Regions from separate parts of the Homo sapiens genome. Here region 2 is linked to region 1. The links are contacts of gene promoters, found by promoter capture Hi-C in human tissues and cell types (Jung and others, 2019). All regions are on one chromosome and are shown on one strand. Each heading gives the region's core, a stretch centred on a gene start or on the middle of the fragment in contact. The rest is flanking DNA. Distances are from core to core; before and after follow the strand shown.

The links. The method cuts DNA at HindIII sites, captures the fragments that hold promoters and counts their contacts. A contact is called where the count stands out against the background at its distance.
Region 2: a contact is called between a fragment that was not itself captured here and the fragment with the promoter of DDIT4L in region 1, in 1 of the 25 tissues and cell types used here (hippocampus).

Annotation. Positions count from the first base shown.
Region 1 is chr4:100,187,127-100,194,369 of GRCh38, reverse strand. It overlaps DDIT4L (DNA damage inducible transcript 4 like), which reads left to right and starts at 3,902. Exons shown (of 3, transcript NM_145244.4): 1 at 3,902-4,067; 2 at 4,338-4,477; 3 at 6,203-7,243. The coding sequence starts at 4,387. The coding sequence ends at 6,693. DDIT4L-AS1 (DDIT4L antisense RNA 1) reads right to left here and starts at 4,337. Exons shown (of 5, transcript NR_125924.1): 1 at 4,296-4,337; 2 at 1,321-1,404; 3 at 528-624; 4 at 371-447. The HindIII fragment of the contact is 5,141 bases long and covers 1,305-6,445 here.
Region 2 is chr4:100,999,865-101,007,107 of GRCh38, reverse strand. No RefSeq gene overlaps it. Among named protein-coding and RNA genes, the nearest start is that of LINC01218, 120 kb to the right of the region's middle. The HindIII fragment of the contact is 3,006 bases long and covers 3,221-6,226 here.

The DNA of each region.
Region 1 (7,243 bases), core at 2,653-5,152:
TTAAACATATTATCTCTATTTAAAGACTGATAATACACAGCATTGTTTATGAAGAGAACAAAATCATATAACTATATTAAGAGACAAGTTGCTATGGTAACCATTTCTCTGCTTAAAAAGAGAGGCAAACCCTTGTGTTATTGGAAGATTCTCTCAGCTTTTAATAGCAAGCATTATGTATTATTTTATGTATTGGGCCTGCTTTTTGTCTTATACGAGATAAGTTTCCATGTTACCTTACTTAACAGAATAAGTCATATTGAATATTTAATAATTAAATGGAAATTGTATTGGGTGATGCACCCTCAAAGGCAAATAAAAATTATGATTAAATATCTCACCGAGTATGTTAACAGATGATCACACATACCTTGAAACAACTGCGTCATTCTATAGTCAATAGTTTCAATTGTCTGTAGATGTTATTTATTTCCAGAAAACTATTTCCTAGATTAATAGAGGAAAGTTAACATATAAAACTCTGTATTTTACACCAAGATAATTTTTTACCCACATTATTTTCTTACGTTTCATTGGCAGATCCTTTCCTGCTTTCCCATACAGTGATGGATGTATTATAATAAAAAAGGCTTTCCTAATCAGTGCCAATACTTTCCAGATTTCCTGCAAACAGGAAAGATCATAAATTTTCTTATACTTTAACAACACTTCCCCAACTCCATTTAGCCACTTGCTTGTTGCACTGACCCAGATAACTACAATTTCAGAACATAATAACAGCAATAATAATAATATCACTCATTAAGTTCTTGCCTAATATCAGTATTAGTTTGGTTCTAAGCACTTTGCATGAGACACCAAATTTACAAACTTAGCACAACTAAGGGAATCTAGAGGCAGTGTGCATTTAAAGATCTCATATTTGTTTATAAAAAAGAGATAATATTTAGCATTGATTTTAAGGGTTTCTCTTTTAATCCTTACAATAACCCCATGAGCTTACTGCTAATGTATAGATCAATTTCCATGTCCTGTAAGTTTTCCCTGAATTGCACAGATTAAGAAACTCAGTAACTTTCCCTCAGGTGTCATAGTTTATGAAATAAAATAAGCTATGTGTGGAACGTAAATGTATTAATAAGATTCAAAAATAAGTGTTCATACCAAATAAAGACAGAAAATTGGCTAGTGAAACACGTAATGAACATTCAACACTCCAAATCACAAATGCAAAAGACACCAACATTTCCTGTAATAATACATGAAAGCATCATTTTTGCTTTTTGTTTTTTCAGTATCCCTGGCATTGTGAATTTATACTTTACATAAGCAATGACATTATGAATACTATATTTATACCTGAGGAAGCCTAGAACTTAAATATTTGCAAATACATCAGATGAACATATGGTTGCCAGTTGTTACTGCTATCTCATTTTCTTTCTGTAAGAAGATGGATTAGTGAATTATAGTAATAAAAAAGCAAGCATGCTTAAGTTAAAGCCTTTGCCTATGATTTAGATAGTTTCTTATAATACATTGGTGTATGAAAGGAAATCAAATTATTTAACTGACTAGATTTTCTATTCATACACAACTATTTCCAGTAAGCACTCCCACAAACTGTTTATATAGTATTAGTTAGAGGATATAATGAAAGAGCAATAAAACAAACTTCTTTATCACTGCACTTAATAAACACCTGAAGTTCCCCAATGCGAACTTTCAGTTATAAATAATTGACTGTATCCACATTTTTCTGAAATCTGATAGACTGTGTCACCTTGCACTTAGCCTATAATGGCACTTAGTTTTTCCTAATTCTTCTCTATGCTTCAAATTTTTAAAAAATCAGTTCTGTTTAACCTTGTGAAGATGCAAACTGGTGATAGAATGGATTTTCTACGCTTTTAAGTAGATAAAAAAGGACATTCTTAATTATTCCAGGTATGTGTTTTACCTCAATCATTCCTTATGCCCTGTATGTCCTGAGAGCAAGGCCCATTCAGCCAAGAAGATATTATTTGAAGTCTTTTGTACATAAGTAAATTGTTTTCTGAAGTCAAATCCCAAAGGGCTTTGCAAAATTTCATTTAGTCAGGTGGGCCAAGAGCAACTACTACTTTCTGTAAGTTCCAATAATCTTTCTGGCCCTATGGGGGCATTTACTCTATGAATTATGCCTAAATACCCTAAGGAAATTGAAACGAGTAATTTCTTTATTTCGCTAGTATTGGTTCAGACCACTCATTATATTAATTCTAAAAATCCTCCTTGGAGGCAGGTTAAGTGGCAGCCTCATTAGTAATGCTGCCCAGACAAGGACAAGAGGCTCTGTGGCCTGCCCAGGGACTGACTGTCAGGCGGCTGGCATCCAACTCCTGACCATGGGCCCATCCATTGGTCCTGAACACCCTAGCCACTGAAACCGCTTTTTAATTGGCTTAAATGGGCTTGTTTATTTTCCACTTTTCTGTTTATTGAAGTAGAAGTGGAAACTGGCCTTCAAAGACCAGTCTATCAGCATCTCCTTCCTTGGCTCGCCTGACCTTCAGGCAGTGCAGCTGCCTGAACTGAGTTAAAAATGGACTGTCAAGCTGGCTTTAATTTCTGCTGCTCTGCGTCCGAATGTCCTCCCACTGATCTGTTTATCACACCCTCTATACCCCTTCTGTTGTTGTTTTTCTAAGAGTTTTATGCCAGGACAGCTGAAACTGCCTTTCAAGGTTCTAACCTGCAAATCCTTCTACACATAATCCTAGAGGGCCTGGGAGCCAACACTGGGATCTCTACTGTAGGAACAACCTTCTCCCTCCAGGCATCCCCTAACGCACCCCAAGCTGACTCTCTGAACAGATCATCTCCTACTGGCACACCAAAGCGAGAAAACCGTGGCTTAATAACTTTGGAAGAAAAAAATCAGGTTTGGCTTCTTGCTCATGGGCTATGCGGGCATGTTGCCTCTTTCCAGGGCTCCTCTGCCTCTCTGTGTGTTCCTGTGCAGGACCGCACGGAGCCCTCACAGGGATTATCTGCTGATCCCCAGCAGAATATAAAACTCTTTATCTTCAGTCTCTGAAACCTCTTCAAAATATCCCAAACCAAAGATCCTCCCAACAGGGCTCGCCAGAAACTTCTGCCTCCGGAAATGACAGTTGCTCTCGATGCACGGATAGAGGAGTACCTAAGATCCTACTAATGGTATTGTGTGTTTCTTGGCAAACTCCCGCTCAATTCAAGCTCCCCGCGCTCTGGGGCAAGGTCTAATTAGAAGAGTGCCAGGCTCACCCTTCCTGCGAAGAAAACGCATTAGCCACAGATGTAAGTGCACGAAGAATGCCAGGGAGCCACGGAGTGCGTGGGGTCATTAAGGCCCTTCTTAAAATGCTGGCGAGCCTTCGATGCGGGAAAGGAAAACTAGATCTGACCGCTTGCAGCAGAGGAGGATACAGAAACCCTGGGAGGCAGAGTAGAGTTGACTGGGTTAGAGGCCAGAAATAAGTGCATAAATGATGCTCAGTGGACGTTGCAACAGATTTAAGCCAAGTGTTCAGGATGACACAGCAAAGCCCCAGGACAAGGAAATGCACAGATCGCTTAAAGCTTCCCGCTGCCGGGAGCAGCCTGAGTGTGAAAGCGCGGACGCTCGGGGAGGGGTCGCACTGAACAATCAGGTTCAGGCTTTGACGAGTCGTGCACCCGGAATTGCGGTCCCAGTGGCCCGAGATCTACCCTGGAAGCAACAGGTGTCCGCTCTACCACAGGCTTATCCTCAACTCCCTGTGGCTAGGCTCGGGCTCCCTGGAAGTGTAGAGGTTGAAAGGGGACCAGACTCTGGAGGGGAGGGGCGGGGCGCTGGCCGGGGAGGGGCGGTGCAGGTGGGCGGGCCTGAGCAGGGTGGGGACTGGACCTATAAAGTTCTCGCTGCCCCGGAGGCTATGCTACTGCGAGGAGCCGGCGCAGGGTGGCCCGGGAGGGGTGAGCAGGGTGCCGCTGGCTGCTGGGGTCTGCAGGTCACCGAGTCCCCAGGAGAGGGGACTCCTAAGAAGCCACCTGCCTGTGTTTACCCGGCAGCGAGCGCGCAGGCCCCCGCGAACTCCTGGCAGGTGAGCGAAGCTGCGGCCTTGGTGGGGGCAGCGGGGCCGGGGGGCGCTCCGCGGGGCAGGTCGCTTCCAAGTTTTGCGAACTGTTGAGTTAGTTTCAGGTTGCGGCTCCGCTCCCAGGGCTTTGTCAAATTGAGTTGCAGAGGCCGGTTCCACCCCTTTGGCAAAGGAGTTCCTCCGCTAGTTCGCTCCCGGGACGCCGGGCATTTTAGGAGCCTCTGCACGACTCGCCTGCTTTTGCAAATCCGTCTCTTCTCGCCTCATTTTTTCCAGCGCTCAGGAAAGGCCGTTGCGCCTCGCGAAGGAAACAGAGCCGTTGACCATGGTTGCAACTGGCAGTTTGAGCAGCAAGAACCCGGCCAGCATTTCAGAATTGCTGGACTGTGGCTATCACCCAGAGAGCCTGCTAAGTGGTGAGTGTCCCCGCTGTCCACCCTTCTCCCCTCCCAAGGTCGGTGCCTCTGGATCTATTGGGTGGGCGGGCTTTCGACTTCCTCCCCTACCTCTATGTAGGAGGTGCCACAAAATCCATCTGAGGAGACTCCTTTCCAAATTTTCTAACATCTTCTCTCCATGATAGAAACAAAAGTAGCAAAAGTAGAATACCCGAGGGCTGCATCTTTCTAGTCTGGTGCCAGTAGGCCCCTTGGGATTAAGTTCCTTATCTTACATGATTGTGAAGAACACAGTTATGTGTGTTTTAGCAAATGTATTTACCCTGTAATCAATATCGCCCCTCCCCCTGAATTCCGACGCACCTATTTGCCAGGTATTCCTCACTCTCCCCTGACTCCAGGGAACTACTGATCTGATTTTTATCATTCCAAGTTAGTTTTGCCTTTAGGTAAGTGGAACCATACAGTAGGTATTCTTTTGTGTCTGGTTTCTTTCCCGCAGCCTAATGTTTTTGAGATTCTTTTATGTCCGTTGCTTAAATCAGTGTGTTCGTGTTTATTGTTTATTACTGAGTAGGATTTTCAGTCGTGGATATATCCATTATTCCATTTTTAATGTGAGAAGGAAACTGTTGAACAGCAGCGGTGCTTGACTTGCTGTCATTTGGAATTTTAACAGCAGTTTCTAGGTGAACACACTGCTCTGACACTAAAGAGCTGTAAGAGCATAGATAAACTGCTTAAGCTCTTCGTGTTTTTCTCCTTTCAAGGTGAAGTGGTTGATGACCTAATTTACAGGCCAGAACTCCAAACTTACACGAAGTGGAGAGGAAAAGCCAGTGGCTGATGAAGGTGGAGTAGGCTTAGAGAGAGGAGCTGGGAGGGCATCTGCCTGCACCTTGTTCATTTGACTCCGTGTGGTGTGGCATCCTGCCAAGGGGTAGGATTAATTTGAGGTGTAGGTGACCAAATGCAGAGCTATCTCTTTTCCTTTGAGCCCAGCTAATTTTATTTCCCTAGGACTATTTTGTTTTGCTTGGCTAAGAAAAACCACCCAGCCGGTTACAAATATCCTCATGAACCTCAAAGGTCTTCTCTGCACAATTTTTAATTAAAGAGGCTAAAGCTAAAATTGGGACCTACAGGCCACTCCAGTAAAGACTTAAAGACACAAATTTGATAGATCTTTAATATAACTCTTAAAGCTTTAATACAACTCTTCAAACATAATAGTAAAAATTCTTTATTTTACAATACATGTATTCCTACAGTTAGAAAGTAACAACCCCTTAGTCCAAAAAACAAAGTTATAACTTTTTATTCCAGAAGTAATGCATGTTTTCTGTAAAACAAAATTAGAAAACCCCCATAAGCAAGTAGGAGAAAAGAAAAGAAAATCACCAATAATCTGGGATAATCACAAGTAGATTTTTGATGCATAGTCTTCACGGTTGTGTGTGTGTTTTGTGTACACACATAAATTTAAAGAAAAGTGGTTACATCCTATCTACTCTATTTATCTAAACCTTTATTTCATACATGAACTTTCATTCATGAGAGCTTAAATTATTCGCTATATTACCTAGCTAGTTAACAGTTAATTGAGGTCAGCTGACTCTGAAACAAATACAAGAAAAAGGCAGACATGGTAGATAGAGGTAACCAATGTTGATATCTTGGTGTTTTTTTTCTACTCTTAAATTTTTTCTTCTGTATCTAAAAAGAAAACTCCATTTCTTACAGATTTTGACTACTGGGATTATGTTGTTCCTGAACCCAACCTCAACGAGGTAATATTTGAGGAATCAACTTGCCAGAATTTGGTTAAAATGCTGGAGAACTGTCTGTCCAAATCAAAGCAAACTAAACTTGGTTGCTCAAAGGTCCTTGTCCCTGAGAAACTGACCCAGAGAATTGCTCAAGATGTCCTGCGGCTTTCCTCAACGGAGCCCTGCGGCTTGCGAGGTTGTGTTATGCACGTGAACTTGGAAATTGAAAATGTATGTAAAAAGCTGGATAGGATTGTGTGTGATTCTAGCGTCGTACCTACTTTTGAGCTTACACTTGTGTTTAAGCAGGAGAACTGCTCATGGACTAGCTTCAGGGACTTTTTCTTTAGTAGAGGTCGCTTCTCCTCTGGTTTCAGGAGAACTCTGATCCTCAGCTCAGGATTTCGACTTGTTAAGAAAAAACTTTACTCACTGATTGGAACAACAGTGATTGAAGGGTCCTAAAAAGGGAAAATATATAAAGATTATTTCATGATTGGGTAGTAAAACTATTCAGCTAGTCAGCTAAAGTCATTTGTAGTTTGCCCCACCTGCCCTAAATAAGAAACCCCAAATGTAGTCTCTTTTCTTTCTGTGTTTCACATTCATAGCAACTGCAGCTAACAGGCTGATTTTCTGGCCTTTGGAGAAGTGATTCAAAATAGTGTAGATTTTCTGCATAGATCCCATTTTTGTACAGAATTGAATGGGATGGAATAGGTAAGCAAAAGTAGAAGCCCATTTGAGTTTTACATTTGATTCCACAATTTGGTTTCAGGTAGGCTTGGTAATAGACTATATAAACCAGATTTGCCTATTTTGATTTTCATATGGCTTTTTTTTCTGTAAGTTTTCAGAGGATTTTTTAAATCACAGAATCATACTAAATGATATTTAGCCTATCAAAACTTCCAAAAGCCCACACCACCAGTTCCTGACTCAAATTTGAAGGGTTTTTAGACAGGAGGGTAGGATTAAGTAGGTGAGTTTAATTAAAGCTTAACCCTAGGTAAGA
Region 2 (7,243 bases), core at 3,474-5,973, 810 kb before region 1:
CCATTTATTACCTTGGGAGAGTATCCAGGCCCTGGCACAGGGAGGAAAAACTCAATATTCATGAGCACTGAGTACAGTACACAAATGGTGTATTAGTCCCTTCTCAGACTGCTATAACTAACTACCTGAAACTGGGTAATTTATGAAGAAAAAAAGGTTTAATTTACTCACAGTTTCACAGGCTTAACAGGAAGAATTACTAGGAAAGCTCAGGAAACGTAGAATCATGGCAGAAGGTGAAGAGGAGGCAAGTATGTCTTACCATGGTGAAGCAAGAAAGAGAGAGAGGGGGAAGTGGCACACACTCTTAAACCATCAGATCTCATAAGAACTCACTACCAAGAGAACAGCAAAGGGGAGGCTGCCCCCATGATGGAATCACCTCCCACCAGGTCCCTCCCCCAACAATTACAATTGAATTGTAATTAACAGTTACAATTCAACAATTGCAATTGTTGAATTACAATTCAACATGAGATTTGGGTGGGGACCCAGACCCAAACCAAATCATTCTACCCGTGGCCCCTCCCCAATCTCATGTGCTTCTCACATTTTAAAACACAATCATGGCTTCCCAACAGTCTTCTCAAGTCTTAAGTCATTCCAGCATTAACTCAAAAGTCCAAGGCCAAAGTCTCATCTGAGACAAGGAAAGTCCCTTCCACCTGTGAGACTGTAAAATCAAAACAAGTTAGTTACTTCCAAGATACAATGAGGATACAGTTATGGGCAATGGATAAAAGCTCCCATTCCAAATAGGAGAAATTGGCAGAAACAAAGGGGCTACAGGCCCCATGCAAGTCCAAAACCCAGCAGCTCTATCAGTAAATCTTAAGCCTCCAAAATAATCTCCTTTGACTCCATTTCTCATTGACATCCAGGGCTCAATGATGCAAGGGGTGGGCTCCCAAGGCCTTGAGCAGCTCTGCTCCTGTGGCTTTGCAGGGAAAGCAGCCTCTGTGTCTGCTTTCACAGGCTAGTGTTGAGTACCTGTGGCTTCTCCAGGCACACAGTGAGAGCTGTCAGTGGGTCTACCATTCTGGGGTCTGGAGGACGGTGGCTCTTTTCTCACAGCTCCACTAGCTAGTGCCCCAGAGGTGACTCTGTGTGGGGGCTCCAACCCCACATTTTCCCTCTGCACTGCCCTGTTAGAGGTTCTCCATGAGGACTCTGACCCTGCAGCAGACTTCTGACTAGACATCCAGTCATTTTCATACATCCTCTGAAATCTAGGTGGGGGTTCCCAAACCTCAGCTCTTGCCTTCTGCACACCTGCAGGCCCAACACCACATTGAAGATGCCGAGGATTACAGCTTTCACTCCCTGAAGCAATAGCCCAAGCTGTACCATGACCACTTTTAGCCACAGCTGGAGCTGGATCTTCTGGGATACAGGGTGCTATGTTCCAATGCTGCACAGAGCAGCTGGGCCCTGGGCCTGGCCCATGAAACCATTTTACCTTCTTAGGTCTCCAGGCCTGTGATGGGAGGGGCTGATGTGAAGGTTTCTGAAGTGCCCTGGAGAGAATTTTTTTTTGGCTTGGCTATTAACATTTGGCTCCTCATTACTTATGCAAATTTCTTTAGCCAACTTGAATTTCTCTCCAGAAAATGAGTTTTTATTTTCTACTACATGGTCAAGCTGCAAATTTTCCAAACTTTTATGCTCTGCTTACCTTTTAAATATAAGTTCCAGTTTTATAACTCTTTTTGTTCATGCATATGAGCACACACTTTCAGAAACAGCCAGATCACATCTCAAATGCTTTGCTGCTTAGAAATTTCTTCTGCGAGATACCTCAATCATCTCTCTTAAGGTCAAAGTTCCACAGATCTCTAGGGCAGGGGCAAAATGCTACCAGTCTCTTTACGAAAGCATGGCAAGAGTGACCTTTACTCCACTTCCCAAGATGTTTATCATCTCCATCAGAGACCACCTCAGCCTGGACTTCATTGTCCATATTACTATTAGCAATTTGGTCAAAACCATTCAACAAGTGTCTAGGAAGTTCCAAACTTTCCCACCTCTTGCTGTCTTCTAAGTCCTCCAAACTGTTCCAACCTCTGCCCATTACCCAGTTCCAAAGTTGCTTCTACATTTTCAGGTATCTTTATAGCAGTGCCCCATTCCCAATACCAATTTTCTGTATTAATCCATTCTCACACTGCTATAAAGAGCTACCCGAGACTGGACAATTTACGAGGAAAAGAGGTTTAATTGACTTGGAGTTCTGCAGGCTTAACAGCAAGCACGACTGGGAGGCCTCAGGAAACTTACATTTACGGCAGAAGGCAAAGGGGAAGCAAACACTTTATACCATGGCAGAGCAGGAGAGAGGGAGAGCAAGGAGGAATTGCTACACACTTTTAAACCATCAGATTTCCTGATAACTCACTCACTATCATGAGAACAGCAAGGGGGAAATCGTCCCCATGATCCAATCACCTCTCAACATGTCCCTCCCCCAGCACTGGATATTACAATTCAACATGGTATTTGGGTGGTGACACAGACCCAAACCATATCAAATGGCCTTGCCTCAGGAGTGGCAAATAATTGGCTCACATCTTAGCCCTGCTCCAGTCCCCTGTACCCCATCTCAAAAGTAAAACCTGAAAGGATAATACTGCTTCCAAGGAAATTAACTGCATTCTAAAACAAAGTTTAAGAATATTTATGGAAGTATAAAATTATCCACTACCTAAATAGGTAAAATTCACAAAGTCTGGCATTCAATAGGAATTATCAAGCATTATGAAAATGGAGGAAAATATGACCTACAAAGAGAAAAATCAATCAATCAATTAACTGAAATGGACCCATAACTCACACAGATGTAAAAACTGGCAGATATGGACATTAAAAGTGTTATTCAATCTGTATTGCAAACAGAGCAAAATTAGCACTTGGGCATCCCTGAGAGTGAGTGCCTTCTTAAATTTTGGAACCTAGATGATATGTCTCATCCTTCATTTTAGTCCTGGTCTGATTTCAGATAATTGAAAGTTAAATAGTGGTATGAAACATGTAAATAAAAATATAAAAATAAAAGAACCTCAATTCAAAGCTTTAGAAATGGAAATTACAATGGTGAGATGAAAAAATACATTAAATGAGATTAATAAAAAATTGCACATTACAGAAGAAAAGATTAGCTATCTTGAAATCATAATAATAGAAATTACCCAAAAGGAAATAATTTAAAGAAAAACATAAAAACAAATCTGTGAGTGATGGGATAATTCAAGAGCCTCAATATATATAGAGTCTACAAAGAAAAATGAAGAGTGGAGGACAGTAAAAATCTTTGAGGAAATAATGGTTTAAACACTTCTAAATTTGATGAAAATTATAAATTTATATATGAAAGAAGCTTAGCCCCAAGCATAAAATCATAAAGTAAACTACACCAAAACACAAAACTAAATTTCTCCAAACTAATGATAAAGAGAAAATCTGGAAAGAGGCCAAAGAAAAAGACACATCATGCATAGAACAAAGATGATAACAGAACATTTCCTGTAGGAAACAATATAGGTAAGGAGACAGTGGAAGAACATTTTAAAGGACTGAAATTTAAAAAAAGAAGACCACCTAAAATCCTACATTCAGGAAATATTTCTATAAGAAATAAAGGCAAAATTAATACATTTTCTAACATACAAAAGCTGAAAGAACTTATTACATGTAGTCCCACACACTACAAGAAATTCTAAAGGAAGTCCTTCAGGCAGAAGGAAAATGATGTCAGAGGAAAATCTGGATCAACATAATGAAAGAGCCCCAGAAACAGTAATTATAAGAAATTGTGGATGGTCTGAGATTTTACCCTGCCTGCAAGTTAAGAAGTTAACCTTCCACAGTTTCATGAGTGCTGGCAGAAGATTCAGAGTTCCTAGATCAGAGACAAATAATTTTATAAGTCATAACACAGCAAACAGTATGAGCTTCATGTTCATGCTGAGTCTTTTTACCTCCCATGTCCCATGGGGTGAAGTAAGCTGACCTAGATGGATTATATACATTGATCCTTGTGTCACAACTAAAAGACCCTGAATATAGTAAAATGCACATTTCTATATATAATGAAATGTAAGCAAATCTGTCTAAACTTTGCCAGAATGGAAGGCATCATCTTCAGCATAAGAGACAACAAAATCTTTTGTCCTCTGTCCCAGAAGTAGACACTATCTTAATCATTCTAGGCTATTCACTACACAAATATCCCAGGAAATAAAACCTGAAACAAAAGCTGTCAGTGTCTTTGCTCACAAGATCTCCAAAAACTTGTCAAACACATTAAGAATTGTCTCACAAAGTAACTGCAAGAGTAAATACACAGGGTTTTTTTTTCTAATTATTGAAATGTCTTCATGAGACTATAGACTGTTTAAACAACAACAACAAAGTTGGAGATTAAAATATATCTAAATTGTAATGCAAAAATAGCACAAAGCTCAGGAGGGAAGCAATTAAAATAGATGGCAAAATTCTTATACCATGCAGAGGGTGTTTTAATGTCACTTGAAAGGAGAATGGATTACCATAAAAACGAACAGTATAAACCCTAGAGCAACTGATAAAATAACAAAATAGAGAGTTGTACCTAATAGGCCAACAAATGAGATAAAATAGAGTCAGAAAGATTTAATCATTAATTTTATTCAATTAAAGCAGAAAAAGAGAAATAGGAGAACATAAACAAATGGAAAAACGGAAAGCCCATGGTAAGATGAGAGATTCAAGTCTAGCAATTTAATCATATTAAATATAAATGGTCTAAATACCAACTAAAAGTTAAAGTTTAAAAAGTAAGACCCAATTATAAGCTGACTACAAGTAACATGCTTCAAATACAAAGACACAATTAATTAAAAGGATGGCAAAAGGCTGGGTGCAGTGGCTCATGCCTGTAATACCAACACATTGGGAAATGGGAAGATTGCTTGAGGCCAGGAGTTCAAGACCAGCCTGAACAATATAATCAGGCCCTGTCTCTACAAAAAATTAAACCTTATTAGCCATACCCAGTGATGCATGCCTCTAGTCCTAGAGGCAGGAGGCTGCAGTGAGCTCTGATTGTGCCACTGTACTTCAGTCTGGGCATTAGAGTAAGACCTTATGTCAAAAAAAAAAAAAAAGAAAGAAAGAAAGAAAAAAAACCTGAAATATATACCATGCGAACAAACATCAAATGAGTTCTGGAGAAGTATGTTACTATAAGACAAAGCATATTTGAGAGCAAAGAATACTTCCAGGGATAATAAAATTATTTCATAATAACAAAGGAGTCTTTCACCGTGATCAAGCGGAATCTTTCCCAAGGGTGTAAGGATGGTTCAATACATGAACAGAATGAAGGCCAAAAAAATACAATCATATCAACACATGTAAAAAGGTATTTTATAAAATTCAAAATTATCTTATGATAAAAACTCTCAACAAACTAGATATAAAAGGAACATAACTCAACATAATAAAGGCCATATATGACAAACAGCTAATATCATTCTGAATGGGAAATGCTGAAAGCTTTTTCTCTAATAACTGGAACAAGACAAAGATGTCAGTTTTCTCCACACTTATTCAACCTAGTACTGAAAGTTCTATCCAGAGCAATTAGGATAAAAAGGAAATAAAGGGCATCCAAATTGAAAAGAAAGAAGTTAAATTGTTCCTGTTTGCAGATAGCAGTATGTTATATATAAAAAACCCTGAAACCTCCACCAAAAACTTTCAGAACTGATTTAAAAATTTGGGAGGCCGAGGTGGGCAGATCACCTGAGGTCAGGAGTTCGAGACTAGCCTGACCAACATGGTGAAATCCTGTCTCTACTAAAAAGACAAAATTAGCCAGGTGTGGTGGTTCATGCCTGTAATCCCAGCTATTCAGGAGGCTGAGACAGAAGAATCTCTTGAACCTGGGAGGCAGAGATTGCAGTGAGCTGAGATTGTGCCATTGCACCCCAGCCTGGGCAACAAGAGTGAAACTCCTTCTAAAAAAAAAAAAAAAATCAGTAAAATTGCCAGATACAAAATGAATATATAAAAAGTTAGCAGGATTTCCATGTACTAACAAGAAGCTGTTAGAAAAAGAAATCAAGAAAGCAGTAAAATTTAAAAGTAAATTTTATACAAAAAGTATAAAATACCAAAGAATACATTTAACCAAGGAAGTGGAAGATATCAATAATAAAAACTGTAACACTAATGAAAGAAGTTAAAGAGTACACGTGCAAAAAATAAAAAAGCATCCCATGCTCATGGATAGGAAGAATTAATATTGTAATAATGGTCATACTACCAAATGAAATCAACAGATTTAAGGCAATTTCTACTAAAATACCAATGACATTCTTCACAGACATAGAAAAAACAGTCCTCAAATTCATATGAAACCACAAAAGATTATGAACAGCCAAAACAATCTTGAGCAAAAAGTACAAAGCTGTAGTCATCATACTGCCTGACTTCAAAATATACTACAAAGCCATAGTAACAAAAACAGCATGAGTGGCATAAAAGTAGACATATAGAAAAAATGGAACAGAATAAAGAACACAGAAGTAAACTCACACATTTATGGTCAATTGATTTTTTTGACAAAGGTGCCAAGAACACACAATAAAGAAAGAACAGGCTCTTCAATAAATGATGTTCGGAAAACTGGATATTCTCTTGCAGAAGAATGAAACTAGATCCTTATCTCTCACCACATACAAAATTCAACTCAAAATGTATTCAACTTGAAATTTCTTAAAGATTTAAATATAAGACCCCAAACTATGAAACTACTAGAAGAAAACATAGGTGAAATATTTTTGGACACTGGTCTGGGCAAAGATTTTATGAAGAAAATATCAGAAGCACAGGCAACAAAAGCAGAAATAAGCAAGTGGAATAATATCAAACTAAAAAGCTTCTGCACTGTACAGGAAACAATCAAGAGTGAAGAGACAGGCAGCCAAATGGGAGAAAATATATACTAACTATTCAGCTTACAAGGGATTAATATCCAAAATATACAAGGAACTCAAACAACTCAAAAGCAAAAAACAAATAATTTGATTAAAACATGAGCAAATAAGCTGAATAGACACCTCTCAAAAGAAGACATACAAATGACCAGCATGTATATGACAAAATGATCAACATTACTAATTACCAGGGAAATGCAAATCAAGACCACAATGAAATATCACATCACCCCAGTTGGAATGGCTATTATCAGAAAAATAAAATA